Regions from separate parts of the Homo sapiens genome. Here region 1 is linked to region 2. The links are contacts of gene promoters, found by promoter capture Hi-C in human tissues and cell types (Jung and others, 2019). All regions are on one chromosome and are shown on one strand. Each heading gives the region's core, a stretch centred on a gene start or on the middle of the fragment in contact. The rest is flanking DNA. Distances are from core to core; before and after follow the strand shown.

Region 1 (3,290 bases), core at 111-2,610, 50 kb after region 2:
TCCTTTGGCAATAAAAGTGAAAAAGGAGAGGCAAATTGACGAAAATTTTTCAGTCAGCTGGGTGACCAAATAGGAACTACAGAGGATAGAAAAATCAAAGATGACTCCAAGGTTTTCAGTTTAATCAGTTTGAGACACACTGAGCGATGTCTAAAATGAAAAGTCAAGTTCTTAGTTAAGTTCGAAGTTGTCTTCATTAGAATAAAAAGGCGAGGAGAGTCCATTCTCAGTCGTCGTCTTTAGATCATCTCAGCAGGAGTCAGCATTACTGCCTCATCGTAGTCTCAGAAGGGTCAGGCTGGTCCCAGATCCCAGCCCTCTCAGCCCTTTCAGATGTCCCAGAGTGCAAAAAGCGTATTAGTAGATGTCCAGAGTATCCCTAACCTCTGACACACTGAAATTCGTGTCTCCAGATAAGTATTGAGCATGGAGTGAGAACCATCCTCTAGCATTTTGTCACTATTTTACGGTCTTTGATCTGTGGAGGTAATATACAACCCTTTACAATGAATTTAGTAGTTGTGAACACCATTGAAGATAAAAGGTAGAATCTGATGATATTGGACCAAGTGTAGAGATCCTAGGGGCAGGGCTAAAGAACCAAAGAAGTACTTACCACATGTTCTTCCCTTATTCCCACCACCCCTGGAGTTTAGTAAATCTTTCAGAAACCTTTATTTTCACTGATGGTGGCATTTTACTTGTCAAGTGCCTTAAAAGTGATAAAGGCCTGCTCCAACTACATGGAAAGTAGGGCAGCATTGTAAAACCTGCTTAGGTAAAAAGGGCATGCAGCTTCATCACAGCTGACCAGGTAGGTAACTAGTGCTCACATTCCCTCAGCTAAAGATTCATTCACTCAGTGAATGAAATGAAAGCTCTAATATGTGCCAGTTACTATTATAGGCTCTGAGAAGACAGCAATAAACAGGACAGACATTCTGTCCTTAAAGAGCTTATGATACAGTGGGACACAAGCAAAGGAACATATAGTCAGTTCTGTGAAGAAAAATAAAGCAGGGTAAGGGAAAAAAGAGTGATAACGTTGGCTTAAGTTTTAATTACTAGGATAACAGGCCCCTTCTCAAAAATAATGTTTAAGGGTCCAGAATTTAAGCAACCACTAGGGAAAGTTGGGTTTGATTTGTAAGTTAACACTCCCTTAATCATTTTTCCAATGTTAGTTCTAGATTTCCTTTTGCTCCGAATTGCTTAAACATGTGGGTTCTAAGACTATAGCATACCTTAACACACACAATTCAAAGCCCCTTAACTTTTCTGGATGTATTAATATTACCACTTGTAGAGAACCGGGCACTATTTTATTTAAAGCTGTTGTCTTGAGCTAACCCTCCCATAGAATTACCAGAGATGATAAGATCTTAGACTTCTGAAGGGTTTAAAAGTTAACTTTTTGAAAGGACTATAGAAATAATCTCACTGTTATACCCAAAGAAAAGAACTGTTCTACAGTGATACTACTGGATACCTACTACTGGAAGATTCCAAGCACACCAGGGGTATTCCTTTTACCTGGACGGCCTTTTGCCCAAGCTCCTCCTGACAAATTTTTATTTATTCTTGAAATCCACAGTACTACTTCTGTACCTTGCAGATATTTCTAGTGATGTCTTTATCAGTTTACGTATCTGTCTTTCCTACCCTCTACTCTTCTTGAGGATAGGGACCAGGATTGATTCATTTTCAACTGCCCTCATGACCCTTGGTGACTATCATATAGTTTGTACTTAATAACTATTGTTGGACCTAACTAAATCTCTGCAGATGATCACCTAGGCATAACTTGATTTTCTGTTGGTGTTAAGTTCATGAAACAGCTTGTTAATAGTTTTATTACACACATCTAAGTTCCTAGCATTAGCCTCCCTGTGCCTTTTATTCTTCATTCAGTTACTGACTTCTGAAACCAAATTCACTTACTGGCAAACATTTGCACACTTCTGCTTGTGCTGTGGAGAAGCCACAGATTCTTAAATATTTAGGACAGAAACTTTTTTTTTAACCATGACACTAATGCAGAGTAATCTATCCCACCAGCCTGCCTCACCAGTTTTTGGGAGGGATGAACGTAAGCAAAGCACTGGAAAACTGCAGGGCACTGTACAGTCTGTGACTTATGACAATATTTAAAGAGTCCTCACCATCTTGCTTGCCCTCTTCTGATGTCCACCGGTTTGTCAGTGAGTCCCTTAAAATGTAAATCCAGCAATGAACTTCAGATGTGATCTGATCCAGGCGGACGACCATTAGATTGTCATTTTCTATAATCTTATAGTAGTTTTAAAATGGACAAAGGTTGAGTTGGCTATCTTAGCCATCACGCTGCAGATCATATTAGGGCTGTAGTTAGTTTCCCAATAATATTCACATTGTCATTCTTGGTGTTGAGTGGCACCATGTTAGGGCAGCTGGGGCAGGAAGTCATGGGTGGCCATTTTCATCTAGCTAGACATGAGCATTTCCTCGAAGACTAAGGTTCTAACTAGATAAGTGGTCTCAGCTGCTTCTAAAGGAAGAGCTCAAGTTTACCACAAACTCTCAGTGCTTGTTCTCCTTGAAGCCAGGTCTGCTTTTAGAGGCCATGAATAATGAAATATGAAAATTATCATGTGGAAACTGAAATCAGACATATTTAAAGATACTTGCTTAAGGCCGCACACCTAACACCTTAACCAGATGTTGTGATTCTCAGTTGCCTTTCTTCATTATGTTGTCTTCCTGATGACAGCTCAGTCTCATGACCACTGGAAACTTTAGGGCTCCAAATCTGTCACCAGAACCTAGCTCTGTGCCATTCTCTCTCTACTAGCATGGTCTAATAATAAGGAATTCCCTTTGGGATTTGTTCTGAGGATTAAATAAAATCACATGTGAAAATGTTTTGCAAACTACAAACACTAAGTGGATGATAATGATTACTAATTACATGTAGTTGGTCTATGTGTATGTATGTGTGTGTACTATAATAGACACTTAAGTTCTTACTTTTGCTTTATTAAAGGCACACAGTGTTCTTAAAATCTGTTTAGCATGTGACATAATGCTAGTAAAACAATTTCCCCACCTGTCACTTGGCCATTTCCACCAAAGTCATTACTAAAACTTGTTTTAAAGTAGACGGGTTTTTCTCCCATCGACACTGGCATTCAAAGTGAGCTCTGACATTTCCAGGACCCCAGCATTATCTTCTGCTCAGCCCAAGGGTAAGAGGGCTCATTTCTCCACAGAAATCTCAAGAAGACATGGAGAAGAACACCAACTATCCAAGA
Region 2 (2,961 bases), core at 207-2,706:
CATTTATACATATATATGTAGGTGGAAAAAATCTTGAAGGGAATGCACCAAGCTGTTCAAAGTGATAACTCATGGGTAATGGGGTTATGGGTGGTCTTTTCCTTTTTGCTTATCTATATTTTCTAAAATAAACATGTATTAAGAAAAATCAATATGAATTCAAAAAATATCAACTTAACTAAAAAAAACCCCTTAATTTCAGGTGAATATGTCAGCAAGTTATGAAGTTATGTGAGGGCTGGGGAAGGAAAGGAGAGGTTTTCACAGTTTGATCTAATTCAAAACTAAATCTGTGAAATACTCATTTCCTAAAATCACTCAGGATAAGTGTGTGATATTTTGGTGGACATATTTTAGTTCCTGGGCTTTGACATTAATTGTAACAGACTTTTAAAGCGTAGCTCTTTTCTCCATTAAAAAGAAATGAGGCCGGGCATGGTGGCTCACCACTGTAATTCCAGCACTTTGGAGGCCAAGGCGGGCGGATCACCTGAGGTCAGGAGTGTGAGACCAGCCTGGCCAACAGGGTGAAACCCTGTCTCTACTAAAAATACAAAAATTAGCCGCGTGTGGTGGCACGCACCTGTAATCCCAGCTCTTCAGGAGGCTGAGGCAGGAGAATCGCTGGAACCCAGGAGGCAGAGGTTGCAGTGAGCTGAGATTGCGCCACTGCACTCCTGCCTGGGTGACAGTTGAAATGGAATAAACTGAGTTATCTCTCTTCAACTTGATTTAAATCATTAACCCAAAACTCAATGCCTTAAAAACCAATGACTAAAATCCTCATTAAAATGAGTGCACATGCCAATACTAAGAATGTTGTGTCATTTTTCATCAAAAGTAATTACCTCAACATAAGAGGAGACAAGTACGCATGGAAGTAAACCCAAAATCCCAACTAATGAACACCGTTCTGAGATCAGTGGCCACAGGGAATAATTCTGCAATTTCCATCACACGCAAAGGTAACAACCCCGAGGTCTTATTTTTATAGAATATCAAGAACAAAATCTTCCAAAAGGCACACGATGCCAAACTAAAAATAAAGAGCGAAAACCCAAAAAGTCGCGCTCAATTCCTTCTGAAACCTATTCGCCTCCTACCCCTGTCCCATCCTCTGGCGCTGGCGGGTCCTCGTCCCCGTTTTCCCCACCGCAAGTCCTGGAACCTCCGCTTAACTCTTTTCTCGGCGGCTCCGCCCCGGCCCCGCCCCAGCCATGCCTTGGCCCCGCCCCGTTCGCCGTTTATTGGCTTCTCCCAACCCCTGCCGGTGGGTGACAAGCCGGGAAGCTTGGAGGGGTCTATTGCGTACGCCCAAGGCGCTGGGCCTGGAGCAGGAGAAAGGGAGTGGAGGCGCGTCGGAGACTATGAAGCGCGGCATTCGGCGGGATCCTTTCCGGAAGCGGAAGCTCGGCGGGCGGGCCAAGAAGGTCCGGGAGCCCACGGCGGTTAATTCTTTTTACCGTGAGGCTTCACTTCCCTCGGTCTGGGCTTCTCTGAGGCGGCGAGAGATGGTCAGGTCTGGAGCTCGACCGGGCCAGGTGAGGGCTGAGGACCTGAGGAGTCCGCTGTGGGGATGGAGAGGGACAGGGGGGTTTTCGGGCCAGGAACTTGTAAAACTCTGCTCGAAAAAAGACAAAGACAATGCGGCGACATTAAAGTGCTGGGACAGAGGTGCAGGGAACACCTAATCTTCCCGTCGTAACACGGCCGCTCGGTCTCTAGATGTTTCTGTTTAAATCGTCGTAGCCCTAGTCTAGAGCGCCGGCTTTGGGGTCAGGCCCGGGTTCGAGTCCCAGCCTTCGCCGCTGCGTCGAGTGACTTAACCTCTCCTAGCTTCAGTCACCTGCAGATTGAGAGTCTACTACTTTTTACTGCTCAGAACTTCCTATTCCTTAGCTGCAAAATAGGCAGAAATAAGCATAAAATCCTGTCTCAAAGAATTGAGAAGGTTAAATAAGAGAACCCGGTAAAAACATCGATCACACAGTTGTTGTAGACATACAACAAAATTTAGTTCCCTTTAAAACACGTAGTTTGCCACCATCTTAATGATAACAGCAGCCAACATTTAGATAGGACTTATGTGGCAGATGCTACTGTAAGTGCTTTTATGTATTACATAGAATAACTCATTTAATAGTCACGATATCCTTATGAGGTAAGTACTATTATCCCTATTTTATATATGAGGAAATCGAGGGCTGGAGGATTCAAATAACTTGGCAGTTACACAGCTGTGGAAACAAGATTCAGACTCACAAAACTGATGCCAGAGTCCATTCTTCTTTTAAACATTTTACCTAGTAGATGTATGACTTTGAACAAACCACTTTTCTGAAATTTAGGTTCCCACCTCACAAATAATAACTCACAGGGTATGGATTAAGTGAAAATGAAAGACCTTAGCACACTGTAAGTCATTCTACAAAGGCAGTATTATCTTGTACTTGTTGGTAGGAGATATGACTACTAAGAAATGCTTATATGATTCTCAAATAGCAAAATTAAAAGTTTAATGATAATAACCTCGTAGAAGTAAGTGTAAAATAAAGCAAACTGATTCTCCTGTATTGTGATTAGGACACTCCTTTTGGAGAGCAGCTTTGCAGTTTGTATCAAGGGTTATTAAATTGCTAATAACCTTTCACCAAATAATTTTCTTTTTAATCCTAAATATAAAAAGGCTGTTTTCAGTAGATAGAAAGGCTTATTCCAGGTTTGTTTTTTTAATTGTGAAAAATATGAAGCAAACCAAGACCATTATTATATTACTTCCACTGAAGGAAATATTATACAACCATTAAAAATTTATGAATATGAAAAAGATTTAAAAGTAGAAAACACAGGATTTAAAATTGCAAATATCTAGGTATTATGACTAAGTAAAAAATGCATATGAAAAAAGATTGGAGGCCCCAATAGCAAAGAACACATCTAGTACCTAGATCTTGGTTTCCA

Evidence for each region. Contacts are between HindIII fragments. The study calls those that stand out against the background at their distance.
Region 1: a fragment that was not itself captured here is called in contact with the fragment with the promoter of CCDC14 in region 2 in 1 of the 25 tissues and cell types used here (thymus).

The regions. Positions count from the first base shown.
Region 1 is chr3:123,909,305-123,912,594 of GRCh38, reverse strand. It overlaps a transcript of CCDC14 not described here. Among named protein-coding and RNA genes, the nearest start is that of MYLK, 27 kb to the right of the region's middle. The HindIII fragment of the contact is 6,426 bases long and covers 1-3,290 here.
Region 2 is chr3:123,959,724-123,962,684 of GRCh38, reverse strand. CCDC14 (coiled-coil domain containing 14) reads left to right here and starts at 1,456. Exons shown (of 13, transcript NM_001366335.1): 1 at 1,456-1,541. The coding sequence starts at 1,512. RefSeq lists a silencer at 1,138-1,448. The HindIII fragment of the contact is 4,558 bases long and covers 1-2,178 here.